Linked DNA regions of Homo sapiens: region 2 is linked to region 1. The links are contacts of gene promoters, found by promoter capture Hi-C in human tissues and cell types (Jung and others, 2019). All regions are on one chromosome and are shown on one strand. Each heading gives the region's core, a stretch centred on a gene start or on the middle of the fragment in contact. The rest is flanking DNA. Distances are from core to core; before and after follow the strand shown.

Region 1 (5,385 bases), core at 1,097-3,596:
AGCAATTATAGACTCTGAATTCAGAATCCCTTGAGTTTGCCATTTTCTAGCAGTATGAACTGAGACAAATTACTGAATTGTTCTGTGCCTCCACTTTCTCATCTGTAAAACAGTGATAATAAGAGTACTTACTTCCAAGGGATATTATGAAGATTAATTGAGTCAATAAGTATAAAGTGCTTAGAACAAAGCCTGCCACATATATGTGTATGCTAGGTTACTATTACTATACACATTATTATTATATATTATTATCATAGAATGGAAGATGGATGGGTGCAAAAAACTATCAAGAAGAGTAGGTATTGGTTATTTAGTGACTAAATCATCAACCCAGGAAAAAGAATATCTGTTTTGGTTGTACAAGGACATAGATGAATCAAGGTAAGATTTCCTTTTGCCAGGCACTGACAGGAACATATAGTAAATCCTATAGCTATATTTAGGACATGAGATACAACCCTAAGCATTGTGCAAACTCTGCACAATAATAATAAACCCTCTTTCTGCGTTACCAACACTGAGAAAGGGTGTTCAAAGGAAGGTTATTAATGATCTCTCCTTGCCTCTCCTGCCTTTCTGAAGACTTTTGCAAGACCTGTGGGGTTTGTTAGGGTTTCCAAACTTCTTCCCAGGAAGTCTGAAATGGGTGCTGCTAGGAGTTGCTGTATAATTACTTACTTGATTCCCTCTAAGGAGCTTACGCTAAGAATTGAGGAAAGAAAGCAGATTAACCATTTGAATACATGCCACGGCCCATCCACAAGCCCTCCCCTCACTCCTCCGTAAATGGGGGCTTCCACATTCCCCACCCATCAACCCCAATATGTGATCCAGGAAAATCAATTTATTGCTTTGGCTAATCCTACAACAATAGGGGTTTCATTTTCATTGTAGGGCAATTAAGTTGTCCGACGGGAGGGAAGGAGCAGGAGGGGAAAGGGGGGACTCTCCCATCCCCACAGACAGATTAGTCCCTGCGGTGGCAGCAGCGTCCCCTCTGTCTGTCTGGTGGTCGGTCACACGCAGCTCCCGGCTGCTACCTAGCAACGCAAAGCCAGGGGGAGAGCTCGCCGGTTCCAGCCTCCTCCTCGCCCTTCCCATTCATCCTCGGCCGGGTCTCTGTCTCTCTGTCTCTCTCTGTCTCTCTCTGTCTCTCTCTGTCTCTCTCTCTCTCTCTCTCTCTCTCCCTCTCTCTCTCTCTCTCTGTCTCTCTCCTCTCTCTCCTCTCTCTCTCTCTTCTCCCGCCCCAGTCGTTCTCTTCCCTCCTTCTTTCCTTATTCCTATTTGCTTCTCTTACGCTCTCTCCTCTTCCCTTCTTACTAGTTTTATTCTCTCCGCTTCTTTCTCCCTCTCTTTCCCTCTTCTCTGTTTCTGTTAAAACATAAACTATCGGACAACTTGAGAGAAGTTTAAAGCACTTCATACTAGAAACTTTCTGCATTCGATCCCCAAAACTCTGGCCATGCAGACGGGCCCCATTCATCAACACAAAAGCCCCCAGCTCCCAGCTGGAAAGGAAAACTTCAAGAAAAGACTCCAGTCCCTCAGCCACTCTCTCGGCCAATCCCACCTCCCGGCCTTATCTTGGCTCGTAAATGATCTGTATGGTGAGAGCGGTCTCTGGGGGTCACCGCGGGACCAAGTTTCGCCGGTGGTGGGAGGAGTGCTCTGGCCCGCGGCCCTGGGCGCGCGAAGGGATCCCGGGAGGGGCGCTGCAGGTGGAAAGCTGCGCTCTGAGCAGAGCCCGGGACCGCGCCGCCCAGCAGAGAACTCCGCTAGGGAGGGCAGGCTGCAAACGGCGGAGAACCTCGTTCTCCCGCAAAGTGCTTTCCAGGAGCATCGGACCAACGCCCGTGGGAACAAAGACAGGGTCTCCGTGGGGTGCGCTGTCACCGAAACTGGCGGGGCTGCTTTCTCAAGTTTGCTGCCGCTCAGTTCCTGGCGAGCGAAGAGGGGCGCTCCCGCTCCGGCTTCGCGAAGCAACCTGAGCGCCCCACCGGGAGCAGCTCCCGCGCCGCCGCCCGGCCCTAGCCCCTGCCCGGACGCTCTCCCCTCCGGCCTCCCGCGGACCCGACCCTGCCACAGCCGGGGAAGTGGGGGCTCCACGAGAGGCTCTGGCTGGGCTCTTACCTTGGCCACTGGCCGGCGCTAGGCAGGCGACGAGAGCCAGGAGCAGCGTGCACGCCACTGCTGCCGGCCCGCGATCCATCTCCGCGACGGTCCCCGGCCTCGCCGTTCCTTCCCCGGGAGGTGGGCGCGCGTAGCACACCGCACCGGCAGCGCCTCTGCTAGCGAACGCTCCTTTAGGTCTGCACCTCCGCCAGCTCCTAGTGGCCAAAAGCCTGCCCCCACGCCCGAGGCATCCCGTTTTCTACCCGCGCCAGTCCCCACCCTCCAGACAGTGCATAAAGCCCTTTAGACCCGACCGCCCCGGAACAAGCATGCGGGAATCCAGCGGGCAGGCCCCCTGCCGCCCGGCCCGCCCCCTGCACTTTGCAGCGCGGGGAGGAGTGGGCACTCGAACACACGCGTGCTCACACAGGGACACTCACACAGGCGTGTGCACACTCACACACGCACTCATACAGGCGCATGCACTCCTAAGTGTCACACCAACTGACACAGATTCACTCATACACGCCAGTCACACACGCGCGCACATTCCACAGTCACACTTCAACGCCGACATACACAGTCCCCTTTACGCGTGCATACAAGAGCACACTCCTGTGCGCACACTCTCACAGGCACACTCACACGTGCACACGCGCTGCCCTCGCCTCTCCGCAGGGTTTGCCCCGCACAGAAGCCGGCGAGGCGGCTCACGGGGAAATCTGCACGGACGCAGTTTTACTAAATGAGCAATGGAAAGAAATGGACGAGGAGGAAAGTCAAGAATAGAGAAGAGAAAGAAAAAATAAGAAATGGAAAAGGAAAGCACAACCAGACAAGTAAAAATGAAGGAAAGAGAAAGAAAGGGAAAGAGGCGGGGGTAGGGAAGGGAAGGAGTAAAGAGCCTGCTGGATGGAGATCTGTGACCTTCATTCCTGGCCTGATCTCTCTAGGCTCCTTCGGATATCTTGGTTTCCCCTGATAGGATACAGGCTGCTGAGATGGGGTGCTTTGTGTTTTTACAAATTAGAGAGGGAGGTGGATCTTTGTTGGGGAGGTTGGATCCTTATTTAGCAATTATTCAGCACCACATCTACAGGTGTCATGGCCAGATCGTGCTTCTTACAAGTCTGCTCATTTTGAAGCAAAATTGAAAAAGAGCGAACGTCTTCTCCATGGTTCCGGTACCCTTTTATAAGAAGGAGAAACACGAGAGGTTCAGGGAACCCCTAGCCTCCCTTCTTTGGGGCCGCTTTGGACAGGCTGGCAAGGGGCCCGGAAGCCAAAAGCACAAGTGGCCTTACACCCGCCCTCAGCGCACGTCCTCAGCCTGTACGTGACATCAGAGCCCACAGGGAGGGGTAAAAAAGGAGGGTTGATGCAAGTTATTTCCCGGTGGTGGGAACCCTGTGTGAGAAGGGGCTGTTTGCGGGCCTGAGGCCATCCCATCATCTCCAGCTCCAGCCCCTGAACCAGCGCGGCAGCTAGTCCCAGGCTCCGGATCCTGGTCCAAGAAGTCAGGAGCCCTTTCCCTCCAGCGAAGGGGCCGTGACGCATGGAGGAGACAGCCCTGAACGCACGTGGTCGCTGGACAGGTTCCCGCTGCCTCCCTTCCCCAGGGGCGAGAACCTGCCAATTACTGCCAGCCCCTTTCCCCGGGGCACAGGTCGTCCGGGGCTCTGCTGACCCCAACAGTCCGGATCGCGTAGCTTCCGTGGGCTGCAGTGGTAGGCGCAGCTTTAGGTGTGGGGGCTAGGGGAGGGAAAGGATAGGTGTTACTTTGGAAAGACAAAAAGAGATAAATAGACACAAAAAGAGAAAACTTAGGCTTAAAGAAAAAAAGGTGGAGCGGGCAGCGTTGTGGGAAAGAGTGGGAGAGATTCCTGGATTGGGAAATCCAGAGGTCTGTGCTCTGGCCAAAGTCACTGGTTCTCTATTTGCCTCCCTGCATAGTGTTGGGCGCTGTGCGGCGCGGAGGAGACAGGACTGGGGACAGGAGAGCCGGGGTCTGGGGAGGGAGGGGGCGACCGGACCGGAGCGGGAGGAGGGAGGCGGCGAGGGGGCTTGATGCTGCACTCCAGTCTTCGCGGGTGATTTATGCCGGTTCCGGGCGGCCGAGGCGATGGTACGAGACCGCGCCGGGGTCAAGCCGGTCCGACGCCCGCTGGGGCCGCGCTGCATAGTCAATGAGCGTCCCCGCACCTCCGACTTACAAAGAGCGGCCGCCGGCTGGCGGGAGGGAGGAGCGCGAGTGCGGGAGGGGCTGGGCTCCCTCCAGTGCGCCCGTGGGCGCGCAGGCGCGAGCGTGTGTGTGTGTGTGTGTGTGTGTGTGTGTGTGTGTGTGTGTGTGTGTGTGTGTGTGTGCCCTTTCACTGTAGCAGCCAGGGCTCCAAACATTCCTTTCTGTACTGAAGAGTTCCTCAATTGTTGTTGTCTTTGTGCTCCAGTGTTGCCAACTTACTGGAATTCCTGACGTGGTTGCACAGCAGGGCTCAGGCTGACCGTACTAGCCAGCTGCGTTTGTGTATGGGGCCGACCCCGCCGTTAATCCCAGAATAACGCAGAAGAGGGGAAAGGAGGGAGGGAGAACGGGAGGTAGGAGAGCAGAAAAGGGGTAGGGATGGGGGACCACCTAGCGGAGCACAGCCCATCATTCGCAGCACTCTGTATGTGGACCCACACACTTTTCCACTAGAATAACCCATTTTCTCAATGCAATCCCCAATTCGTGACGTTTGAAAACAGCCTGCACCATGCACGTGTTTATCTCTGGCATCCATACCTGAGAATGCCTGTTACTAGATTGGGGTGATTAAATCTATGGACCAGTATCTGGGAAAGCCCAGGTTAATTCAGTTGCAATTTAAGCCAGCAGTGTTTCTCTATAATGCAAAAAGATAATTTCTTTAGTTTTCACATTTCTCTCTCCATATATGTATATAGGACTTTTCAGAGCAGTCAACCGAAAGAGACAGGTGAAAGTGAAACCAAGAAGCTTCAGCACCACCATTGCCCCAGAAGCCAAGCTGAAATTTACATCATTCTTGACTCCTTCTTTTTTCCACCCCCATTGCCAATCAATCATGAAATTCTGTTACCTCAAATTTATCAATCCACTCATCAATCTAAATTATAGGGAGAGCCTTAGAATGAGCTCCTTGCTATCAGTTTTGCCCCCTCCCATCTACTTTCCATTTGGCAACCAGACAATTCAACTTGGTAGTTCTATCAAACTAGTGCTTGCAAACAGAGGTAATTACTTTTTAGAGG
Region 2 (5,385 bases), core at 801-3,300, 1.2 Mb before region 1:
ATACTCAGTCCCTCAGTCACACTAGCCACATGTCAAGTGCTTAAGAGTCACATGGGATTAGTAAAAAGTAGATAGCAGCACCTCAGAACATTTCCATCATCACAGAACATTCTGATAAATGGCACTGAGATAATTCAGCAAACTGCAATGTGTTAAGGACCTGAACAATGTTAAAAAGAAAGGACTCAAGGAGAAAGGACTGGCTAACTTTTTTGAAGAGTAAGCGGTGACTGTGGAGAGGATGTGACCTTTTAGGCCTGAGCACATGGAAAACAAAGGAGAGATGCAAGGCTGAGAAAGAGGACAGGTCAGGGGCAAAGGCATGAGAGCACATAATACATTCCGGGGGCTGCCTCTCAGCCTAGAAGGTCGGGCATTTCATACCTGGAGAAGAGGACATACACATTCTCGGAAGTTAAGCAAAATTATGAAAAGCTTTGAAGGTCAATGTGAAGCAATCTGGACGTTATCCTCTAGGCAATGAGAAACCAAACAAACTTTCAAACACAGGAGAGAAAGGATTCAATCTAAAGTCTTCTCCAATATGCTGGTTCCAACAAAAGGAGAGAAAACAAGCAAATAAATAACAACAACAAAATCCACTTACCTCCACTTAGTAATTTCATGACCAGCCAAAGTTCATCTTTGACCACAAAAGAGGTGTAATAGGTCACTACGTTGGGATGGCTGCACTGACTCATGGCTTGAATTTCTTTCTATAAAAAGAGCAAAACATGACATAGTACCATGGGGTGAAAATTGGCAAGCAAAACACAAGTGAATCACAGTTGAGTACCTGGGTAACTTTCCTACTCGAAAGCCTACCTGAGGGGCTGCCTAAGCCATTACTTCAAAGAAGGTATATAAGGACCAATTCTCTCACCCACATTATCAACTCAGATTAGAAAGTTCTCTACAGGAGACCACAGAGCCCTGTGGACCAGCTACCAGACACAGGAACTTCAGATCACTGTTATCACCCAGATGACCCCCCAACTCTGCCAGCAGAGAGCCCTGCCACATAGGACTAAGAGCCTCATACCTGAACCGAAGGCTTGACAGGGAGATAAAAGACTGGGTGAGTTACTAGGACACCTGCATCCTGGTGCCAGCCTGAACTCTGGTGGATCTTAGCTCCTCCCTCATCCAAAAAACGACAACAAAACTGTCCCTGTTTCTCAGGACTGCTGTGATGGTAAATGAGAAAATACATTTGAAAATGCTACAGTATTATTTCCCAGCTATCTGCCACAGTAGATATTCCATTAACTAAAAAAAGGAGGTGGCAGGGAAGAGAGCGGCAGGCGAAGTAAAATAAGCTTGGGAAAGATCAGATAATATATCTCATTCTAAAAGAATCACAGGGAATATTAGTACTGTCAAAGGCTCTGAGAAGTCCTGCAGTAGATAAACTGCCATAGTTTAATCCATATTAACAGAGCAGGAAAAGAATGCTTTGTGGGTCACATCTTGGAAACACTGCTGTAGAGAATAAAATATATTTTATTCTTTGTTGTTTTATATAAAGACATAAAACAACAAAGCTGAGAAATAAAACAAAAGGAAACTTTCAATAAATCACATTTTTCTGGAATATTCAGTTTCATATTGATTTCAGTTTCTCGTTTTAAGTTATTGTCGGATGACTCCCATAAAAGCTTCAGTCTAATGTAACTCTCAATCAAAGGTACCAGACCAGTGTAACTCACTTTCAAGGTGCCATAAAAAGGACAAGAATAACCTAAATGATCAAAGAAACCTCATTTTTGCCATTATGTATTGATGAAAGAAGGGTACATTTATGCATCCTATGAATATATTCAATAATAATGAGCTTCACATTAACTCAAAGTTACCCAAGCAGAACATCTCAATTTGGACGTTATCTTTGCTTGTCCAGTACTGCCTAATCCTCATACTACTAAAAAGATCCTATATATCCGACAACTTGGCCAAAATTCTGTAATATGTAACACTCATACGTTCCTTAACATATATGTTTATTTAAAGTGCTTTTGGCTGGGGGCAGTGGCTCATACATGTAATCCCAACACTTTGGGAGGCCGCAGCAGGCGGATCACCCGAGGTCAGGAGTTCAAGACCAGCCCAGCCAACATGAGAAACATTGTCTCTACAAAAAAATTAGCTGAGTGTGGTGGTGTGCGCCTGTAGTCCCAATGACTGAGGAAGCTGAGGAACGAGAATCACTCAAACCCGGGAAGTGGAGGTTGCAGTGAGCTGAGATCGTGCCACTGGACTCCAGCCTGAGTGACAAAGCAAGATTCTGTCTCAAAAAAAAATTAAAAAATAATAAAAATGAAGTGCTTTTAACCAAAGATAAACTCCTTAGAAACTACTAATTTTTCTTTTTTCTTCTCAGTATATAACAATGATTTTCCTTCATCATTCCCCTCATCCATTTGACTGATTACAGGTTTTCTAAATCTGACACTTTTCAATTCAGCAACTCTTATCCTTTGAATAAGATCTGAAACCTGAGGTTCAGTTTCCATCTGTTTCCGGTATTAGGTTCTGATGCCATAAGACACTTCTGAAGGAGAAATGGAACACTGCCCTGGCCACTCCTATTTCAAGTCAATAGCATCTGCTCAGTGCGGGGATGGCCCACACTGAAGGTCTGTAGCATTAGGTAGGGTCCAGTTTAAACAGATGCCTAGTGTTCAAAGAAACGAGAACAATGTCTCTTAAATGCAGCTGCACTCTAAATGTAAGTGAATGCTTTTCTAGTGCTGTAACTCCAAACTTTTAAATAATTTATCAAAATGCACAAAACAACTAATGGTCATACAAAAGGAAATTCTTTTACATTGAAGGCAAGGTTGAGTCAGTCTAGAAAAACACACTTTTTAGCCCTTTGCATTTAGATGGCCAGTATCACTTCCCACCCAAAGTATCAGGTTCTCTGACTTTGCAGTGAGCGTGTGTGTGTGTGTGTGTGTGTGTGTGTGTAACTCCTTTAGAAAACCTGTAGAACCTATAGATATAACTTAGCAAATTCTATTCCTTCAAAACTCTGAGTCTTAGAGACACCATCTGGACATTAAAAGGTTCCAGAATTTAAATGAGTGGGGGATGAGGGGTCACAGATACTGCCACACCAACACAACCACAGGAGCAGTATAAGGACAGGTAAAAGAAGGGGCAGGGGGCCCAAGAGTGGCTTTCCATCAGTTTGATCACTCAACCTCACATTCTTCTTCCATGCAGCTGAGCCATCCCTCTTCACTTCTTGGCTAGGGGGGTCCATGTCCCCAACTCCTGCACCATCCATTGTCCTGCACAGCAGCTTTTCCACAAGCATTAATGCTTAAGGACATGATGAAACTCGCCTTAGGGAGAAACATCTGTAGCTCTGTCTTGAGATATGACCTATGCTATCACTGATCCCCAGGATAAGTAATATTTCCACATAGAAGAAAGTTAAAAACCTGAAAACTAGAAATCTTTCCACAAAACTATCCCCTCCATTCTTTTCAAAACAATGATGGGTGTTATTTGAAAGCTCCCTTGGTAACAATCTATTGGTTAAATTATCTAAGCTTCTCCTAATGCCCTAACCGCATTCATATGGTTAGGAAAAGACATTCATTACCAAGCATATTTGTTTGTCCCTATCCCTAAAAATGACAAAACTATTGCCTAAAGATGAACAATTTGAAAATATAAAAATGTTTTAGCTGATTCTTTCGACAGAATGAATGGGTTCTAACATCCTATTCTCTTAATTAGGTCACAACCCAAGGCAGAAGCGTGAGTTAAAGCGGTGCTTCCCTAATTTGGATGGGCATGCAGATCACCTCAGCAATTTGCTAAGATGCAGACTCCCATTCGGAAGGGCTGCAGTGCGGCCTGAGAATCTGCATTTCTAGCAGGCTTCCATGTGATGCTGATGCTGTGGGTCCAGAAACCAGACTTTGAGTGGCAAAGTGGTAGACTGAGCTTTGAAAGAAGGCAGAGAGGAAGGTTGGGGGATGTGAGAGGAGGGACACAGACGACTGCAAGGAAGCCGACAGTGTCAAAAGTGCCCAGTAGTGGGTCTGGCCGACAGTACTGCCTGGCTGAGTCTAACTGGAGGAGAGTCTAACTGGAGGAGAGGGGTAAGAAGCAAAGCTGGAAATAAGGGAGACTGTTGTACTAAAGTGGTGTGAATTTCACAAGGACAGAAAAGGGTAAAAACTTCATTGAGATTTAAAAAAGAAACGCAAGCAAACAAACAAACAAAAATCCCACGAGGTCAAAGATGGGAGAAACTACAGAACTCTGAAATGCAGGCAACACATTTGCCAAAAATATAGTCAAGGAATTGAACACAGTGGCTCCCTTGGAAACCGAGGAAATGAGACTTAGACATGTCACAAGCGCCAAACCAAGCTATGGCACAGTAGTTAATCTTCTCTGAGGCTGACAGAGCTGTTCATGCAGCTCCATCTGAAATGTATCACAAGTGAAATTTCACAAGAGTGGGAAGACCAACCTTAAAATGGGGTAGCATGGAAGATCCCCTATCCACCTGCTAGAACTGAAGTGGCAGCCACAGCAGCACCCCTCTGCAGGGAGCCATGTGCAAGAAAGACATATCAAAGAAGGACACCCACACACTGCTGTTATGCCAGCCCTGCAAAATTTGCCAAACCAGACATTACGCGCGTCATGCTAGGTGTGGTGAGGAATACAAAATAAAGTATCCTACCCTACAAATATGAGGAGTTGGGAGGAAAAAACTTCCCCTTCCCCCAAAAAATAACAGAACTGAAAATAAAAAAAGGGAAAAAAAAACTTAATTTTTTTTTTTTTAGACAATCTCATTCTGTTGTCCAGGCTGGAGTGCAATGGCGCAATCATAGCTCACAGAAGCTTTAACCTTCCTGGCTCGAGCAATCTTCACACTTCAAGCCTCCTGAGTAGCAGGGGGGATGAGCACATGCTATCACATCCAGCTAATTTTTAAAAATTTTTTGTAGAGACAGGGTCTCACTGTGTTGCCCAGGCTGGTCTCGAGCTCCCAGGCTCAAGCAATCCTCCTCCTTGGTCTCCCAAAGTGCTGAAATTACAGCTGTGAGCCACTGTACCCTGCCATAACTAAATATAATAAGAGATTTTCTCATATTGCTATATGGCCTTTCATTTCCACGCCCCCCCCACTCCCCCCTCCCCCCCACACACAAAACATTATTTCTCCTACAAATAGTACTGAGGCCAATCAGGAACTGTGACTAGCAAGGATCTGATCCTCCAGGATCTACTACTGAAGGGCCGCACTCTATGTCACAGCTGGCTTGGAAGCTTGGCCTTGCCATTTACTGGCTTGATTACCTAGGCGGGTTATCCAACAACTTTGAGCCTCAGTTTCCTTTTCTGTAAAAG

The links. The method cuts DNA at HindIII sites, captures the fragments that hold promoters and counts their contacts. A contact is called where the count stands out against the background at its distance.
Region 2: a contact is called between a fragment that was not itself captured here and the fragment with the promoter of LRP2 in region 1, in 1 of the 25 tissues and cell types used here (hippocampus).

What each region holds. Positions count from the first base shown.
Region 1 is chr2:169,360,188-169,365,572 of GRCh38, forward strand. It overlaps LRP2 (LDL receptor related protein 2), which reads right to left and starts at 2,347. Exons shown (of 79, transcript NM_004525.3): 1 at 2,134-2,347. The coding sequence starts at 2,212. RefSeq lists enhancers at 2,198-2,831, 2,832-3,465. The HindIII fragment of the contact is 10,463 bases long and covers 1-5,385 here.
Region 2 is chr2:168,166,692-168,172,076 of GRCh38, forward strand. It overlaps STK39 (serine/threonine kinase 39), which reads right to left. Exons shown (of 18, transcript NM_013233.3): 3 at 608-716. Among named protein-coding and RNA genes, the nearest start is that of STK39, 78 kb to the right of the region's middle. The HindIII fragment of the contact is 4,333 bases long and covers 1-4,217 here.